Regions from separate parts of the Homo sapiens genome. Here region 2 is linked to region 1. Evidence: promoter capture Hi-C in 16 types of primary human blood cells and fetal thymus (Javierre and others, 2016). All regions are on one chromosome and are shown on one strand. Each heading gives the region's core, a stretch centred on a gene start or on the middle of the fragment in contact. The rest is flanking DNA. Distances are from core to core; before and after follow the strand shown.

Region 1 (3,241 bases), core at 540-3,039:
ATCCACCTGTTATACAGACAGTCGCAGTCTAGAACTACAATTTGAACTCGCATCTTCTGAAAGTTCAGGTATACAAACCGGAACCTTAAGCTCCAATACATAACTTTCCCTTTATAGTATATTCAAAAAAGCTATTACCAGAGCTTCTGCAATCTACAACCAACCAAATATGTTCACACGAAGAGACTAACAGGGGCACTTAGAATGTACAAAATAAGTCTTGGGTTACAGTGTACATTCTGTTCTCTGGAGCTTTATACCATGAAAATTTAGCATTTCCCCTAAAGTGACTCCTTTTCCTCAAAAATCAATTGTTTTAAAAAGTAAATTTCTATTGCTTGTAAGGGTTTCTGTAGAAACCCCTACTCCTACTTATTCTTCTCTAATGGAAATACTACCCTAGAAAATATTGGAAAATAATGGAAATACTACCCTAGAAAATCTTCACTAATAATGAAGAAATGTGGCTTGATTTATTAGTAAGCTAATGCCAGTATTCTTTGTATGATTTACTGAGCCTCTCAAAAATTTTGAAACTCATGTTGAGTAAAATACATCCGACTGTGTTTAAAAAAAGCCAATTAAAACGACTATCAAATAACATAAACAGTAATTCCTGAAGTCAATGGTTTTGCTTTGAAGAGGCCAAAAAGGATAAAACAGCCACCAGAAGTCTACCATAGTCTTTACAGTGAATATGTCCAACTCTGTAACTTATCCTAAGGTAACTATTCCAACTACACATCATCTATAGCAACTATTCAGCATCCTCCAATGTGTAATCTCTTGTTCACTAGATCTTCTGCTACAAACCTCAAAGAAATCATTCTTTAAATTTCTTCAGCTCACACCATTTCCCATCCTTTTGTAAAAACAGAAGAAGACGTTATAAAACTTTGAAAATAAAAATGATAGGAAACGGTGGAAAAGTAGAGATGGCCTCTGCACCCAAGCTCTTTTCCTTTATACCTGATAACTTGTCATTTATCTCACCTACCTATCTTCATGTTCCTGGATAATCCAGGGTTCTTCCAACAGTTCAAATGGCTCTCTTACTAACAAATGTCAACGTCCTTATGTGACCATTCTGTTCCAGTCTCTGTACCATCCATTCAAGCCTGCTAGCTTTATCCTGCCAAAGAACCACGACGCTCCAAACTCACAAACCATTATACAAGCCCAACATATACTCTATGCCGTTCTCGTTACCAACACGCTCCAACCCAACGTAAAACCTTCCTAGTATCAACTCTTCCTTTATGAGCTTTTCCCATATTCCTACTCCCTCAACATCTACCGGCCCATACTCCCAAGTCTCTCTGCTAAACGCAATTCTAGCCCGGAGTCACACCCTCTACAGCCTAATTCCCGCAACCCCAAAACCCCACCCCCCTCATCACGCCCTCTGGGGCCTCAGCTAGGAACCCCAACACCCCGCCCCACGCCCGGCACGCCCTCCAGATCCCTTTAGGGTCCTTTCCGTCGGCCCGACCAGACCCCGTTCAGGCCTTCCAAGCGCCTAGGCTCTCCCGACCACCACTCAGTCCCCGCCTCCAGCCCCTCACCGAGTAGCAGCAGCTTCACTTCTTTGGCCGCTTTTTCCCCGTCCTCCCGTAAGTTGCGGTCGATCATCTTGCTTCGCTCCACTGCCGCCTTGTCTTCGGCGCTCAACGTGCAGCCCATGGCGGCGGCGGGAGAGGGGACACGGGCCCGGACTCACTCACACCACGGAAACTGCGGCTCGGCAGGCTGAGGCACCGTCTATTGCTGGGCGGTGGCCCTCTCCGTCAGCTCCCTTAGCGCCCAGAAGAACCGGATATCCGACGTTTACGACACTTCCGGCGACGCCCCGCAGCCTTCACCGTTTAAACCACTCTCCTCAGGGAGAGGAGTTGAGACCGAAAGCGGAAGTCACGGGGAGCTGGCGGCTGGGTTGGGCGGCGGATCTGCAGAGTTTCGAGGTTCTGTCAAGTTCGCTGCCCGCCGCCCAACTTGAAGCCTCATTTACCTTTCGGCTACCTGATTTGGATAAATGGAGAAAAACCGGGGCCTCTAACTCATAATGCCCTCCCGCGTTCAAGATGCCAGTTTTGGGGCGGAGATTTCTAAATTAAAGCCTACATCCCGCGCGGGAATATCTGCTGGTAATTTCTCGCCTGCCAGAAAACTCCTTTGATCTCTGGCTGTGGAGACTCGGGACCCCTACCCAAGTATGGGACACTGCCTCCGTTGGGGTTATCTCAGATCAATGGAATGGGAACAAGCTATCCGGCCTGGGCGCCGTTCACGTCTCACATCTGAGATCGTAACACCGACTGTGCTTAGGACCTCAGCAATAACTTTTTGCCGTCTCTGGCCCACTGACTCCTCTCAAAATGTCCCCTGGTCCTTTTGCTATTCACGTATTTCTGTGGGCTTGAGATTTGCTTAACTCCTATATTGGCAAAAGGCCACTTGAAATCGCTAGCAGATACTCGATAACCTGAAAGGTAAGCCTGTAGTTCCTCCATAAAATTTCCATGCTGCCCTTCTCTCCAGTATAATTCAGATCTTCCTACCTTAGGGTCTTAGAACTAAAACCAAGATAAGTCAACTTCAATTCCACACCCCGAAACAAACCAGTGCATCCTGTGAATCTCCTACTAAAATTTCCTGTTGCGATAACATGCAAAAGGAGAGGTTCTAGTAAAATTTGCCTCTCAGCCCTAGTATCACCTGAAACTTAAGTCCACTGTGAAAGTCCCAGGCAGATAGCATCTTTCACTAATAACCCTGGATACTGCGTGAAGGTAGTCCTAAATCAACTTTTCAGGCAAATAAGCCCACAATTACTATACGTTCTAGCGAAGGGAACTCAGTCCCTAAAACCTTTCCCTGTGATTGTAAATTTATTTCTCTAATAGAATCTGAACTTGAGAAAGTAAGGTCCCAACAGAGAGGTTTATATAGTGATGATTCATTAATTAGAAGGATTTAATTAGAGGATTAGAGCCACCTTAAAAAGCCTCGTCCACCTTAACTCTTAGCAATGCCAATTCTTCAAGGTTTGAAAAGTCCCCCAGTCATTCCCAAATGACTGTTAAGAATGAAAGGGACTGCTTTTCCATTATCAATACTTTTGGGGAAAAAGGGCAAGAGGAAAGGGAAGTAAAACCAGTATTTATTGAGTACCTATTTGCCAGATACGGCTAGGTGCTCCCACATCCCATCTCTTAATCCTCACAACAACCCTGTGAGGTAG
Region 2 (3,241 bases), core at 284-2,783, 340 kb before region 1:
TTCAGAAATTTAGATTGTAGCTGGGGAGAGAGACATATAAACTGGTAATTCTACTACATGGTGGAATTACCTGAAAAGCCAGGCAGCTCCTCCCTCCAGCCTCAGCTGAGATGTCATCTTCCCACAGGAAGTCTTCCCTGACCCTCGTCTGGGTAGACGTCCTTCAAGCATCACAGCATATACCACTAAGCTGTGCCATTGCCTGGCAGCCTAGCAGAAACTCCCATTCCCCCATCACCAAAACATGAACACTCTGAAGGCAGGGACTGGCCTTCTGTCTTTGTGTCCTCAGCGTCTCACACAACTAAACATATTTATAGATAAGTGTTACATGAACGATTTCTAAACAGTTGACTGCAATACAAGGCTGACAATATATGCTAAATAGAGATTTGACAACATGCTGGCTTTGTTGTAGAGAAAGGGCTGATTAATTTTGAACTATGAGGATAAAAAAGGCACCAAAGAGAAGGTGTGATTGCGGCTAAGCCCTATGGGATGCACAGGCTCTTGCCAGCCAGAGAAACAGGAGGAGAGCATGAGTCAGGAAAGTACATGCTTTGTTACAGCTAACATACAAAAGCCCACAGGGACTGGCGCATAGGACATGGAGGGAGGAGATGTAGGTGGTCAGGCGAGGAGGAGTCTTGGTATCGTGCTAAGCAAGGAGTGTCGTCTTTGTTCTGTAGACACAGAGACCCTCTGAGAAGTTTCCATGACAGGAGTCATCTAAACTGACCCGCATTTTGCAGAGGCTCTGCTGACGGCTGTGGGAAGGGTGTATTTTGGAGAGTTTATTTCTAGGAGTGTCCTCTCTTTGTCCTCTCTCCCCTGGAAGGGGGAGCTGGGGAAAGTTGGAGGGAAAGGGTGGAGCAGATAAATCAGTTAAGAAGCAATGTAATGTTAGGAGACTGGTGGCAATAACATGAATCAGAACAGGTACAGTGGGAATAAATAGAAAGAGGCAGAGTTGGTGACATGAGAGTGAGACTGAATTATCTACACAGAGTGGCTGGGAGGACATGAGAGAGGAGCAGGCTCCAGGAGTGGGGGAAGGGGAGGAGGCGTTCCATTCTGGGCTGCCATCAGCATGGGAGTAGAGGACGAATCTTAGATTTTCTCAATCCTGATTCATCTTGATAACAAGCTATGTGAGGACTTTGAGGAACCCATTTTGTTCAAAGCTTACACAAGTGACAAAATCTCTTCCTATTATGGAAACATCTCACAGAGCCCTCCCAGTTTTAACTACCACCATCCCACATACACCCACCACCATAGCAACCCACATGGTTGAGACACAGTGGGGTGTTGCCAGGAGAGGTAAGGTGTGGTGTGTACAGGGAGCCCCTGTCATCATCGGGATGACTTTATGTCCGTGAGAGTGGCAGCCCACACCCTAGCCTCTGAGCTGCTGGCTTTCCCCATCTCTGACAACCTTCTGTCCCACTGTGACTTGGCCACCCACTCCCATCACCACTCCCTAGACTTAGTCACCACCCAGAACTCCCTCACCTCTGAAATCACTAATCTTGATGGCCTTCTCTATACTCTCAGCTTCTCCACTCAATCACTTTGTCTACTCTTGACCTCTGACCCCATCAGGTACCCCGTCCATGGATCCCTCTGTTTTCTTTCAATCCAGCAGCCCCCTTTTTCCTGCATTCTCTTTTCTCACACCTGAGATGCACAGCTCAGAATTTTATTCATTCTCTCCTATAACATAAATTCCCCCTTGTTGCACCGCCTGCCAAAATTCCACCGGTGGATGAAGCAGCTGTCCTTTTCCTCTGAACTGCACTGGCATGACAGGTGATTCTGCAGGAGAAGGCCACAGTAGCAAGCTGGCCAGGTCCTCCAACACTGTGACCACCAAGCTTGGCTGGGTCCTCAGTGCTGCCTGCCATACATATTCTAGTCCTGGAAAAACCACCCTGGTAGACCGTATCCCTGTCCTCAAACTTTCCACATACTTACTTCCATCTGAATTCTCAGCAGATGTTATCTCCTACTCCTTTCAAAGATAAGACAGAAGCCAGCCAGGTGTGGTGGCTCATGCCTGTAATCCCAGCACTTTGGGAGGCTGAGGCAGGTGGATCACCTGAGGTCAAGAGTTCAAGACCAGCCTGACCAATATGGTGAAACCTTGTCTCTACTAAAAATACAAAAAAAAAATTATCTTGGGGTGGCGGCAGACGGCTGTAGTCCCAGCTACTTGGGGAGGCTGAGGCAGGAGAATCACTTGAACCCAGGAGGTGGAGGTTGTAGTCAGCCAAGATCGCGCCACTGCACTCCAGCCTGGGTGACAGAGGGAGACTCCATCTCAAAAAAAAAAAAAAGACAGAAGCCTTGAGGCAGTGAGTCTTCAGCCATCCTGCAGCTTCTCTTATCTACCGGCTGCACAGGTCCTCTCCACTTTGCCTCCTGGTTTAATGGAAGGCATACACTCTTCTATCTAATTTGCCCTCTTAGCTTCTGGATCCCAACCCTTGCTGCCATCTCAGGGACCTTGCCTATCCCCTCTTTTCCTTTATCTTCAGCTTCTCCCTCTTTACTCTCAGCTCCCCATCATTTAAACACATTCAAGTCTCTAATGTGAAATCGGGCCCTCCCTTGATTCTATCTCTTCCTCCAATGATTACCCTCTTCTTCCTAGGAAAACATCTCAAACACTTTCCATTTACGCCTCAACTCACTGTGATAGATTTTTCCTCCCTCACAAAATATAAATAAACTGCACCCAAACTACTAATGACCTTCTCCATACATTCAGTGAACAGTTTTAGCCCTCGCATGTTTGATTTTTCCACTGAGGGTCACTTCTTCTTTCTCCTACCCTTGGCTTCCATTACACTTTCCTGTTTGTCCTCCTCTACCCAAACCCTAAATATTGGACTTACTGTGACTGCCCTAGACCTGTCTCCTCTGTTTATTGCCCCTAAGCCACCCCCTGCACTCCTAATGCTTCAAGTGCTGCTCTAGGCTGGAAACTATGGAGGACACCTCTCTTCTAGACCCCTCCTGATCTTCAGATCCATGGGTTCAATTGCCTGTAGGGTTGACAGATTTAGCGAATAAAAACACAGGATGCCCAGTTAAATTTAATTTCAGATAAACAATGGATGCTTTTTTAGTATGAATATGCCCAATGCAATAGGACAGATTTATACTAAAACATTATTTGTCATTTATCTAAAATTCAGACGTAACTGGGCATCCGTATTTGATCTGGCAACCCTGC

What was found. Contacts are between HindIII fragments. The CHiCAGO score rates a contact against its expected background, and 5 or more counts as called.
Region 2: a contact is called between a fragment that was not itself captured here and the fragment with the promoter of GNAI3 in region 1, in 1 of 17 cell types (M2 macrophages). The highest score is 5.2, in M2 macrophages.

The regions. Positions count from the first base shown.
Region 1 is chr1:109,547,163-109,550,403 of GRCh38, reverse strand. GNAI3 (G protein subunit alpha i3) reads right to left here and starts at 1,789. Exons shown (of 9, transcript NM_006496.4): 1 at 1,566-1,789. The coding sequence starts at 1,683. GPR61 (G protein-coupled receptor 61) reads right to left here. Exons shown (of 2, transcript NM_001393907.1): 2 at 3,144-3,241. RefSeq lists enhancers at 1,503-1,672, 2,203-2,262. The HindIII fragment of the contact is 6,158 bases long and covers 1-3,241 here.
Region 2 is chr1:109,888,554-109,891,794 of GRCh38, reverse strand. All of the region lies in intron 4 of LINC01768 (long intergenic non-protein coding RNA 1768), which reads right to left. Among named protein-coding and RNA genes, the nearest start is that of CSF1, 21 kb to the left of the region's middle. RefSeq lists an enhancer at 1,254-1,548 and a cis regulatory region at 2,234-2,658. The HindIII fragment of the contact is 693 bases long and covers 1,187-1,879 here.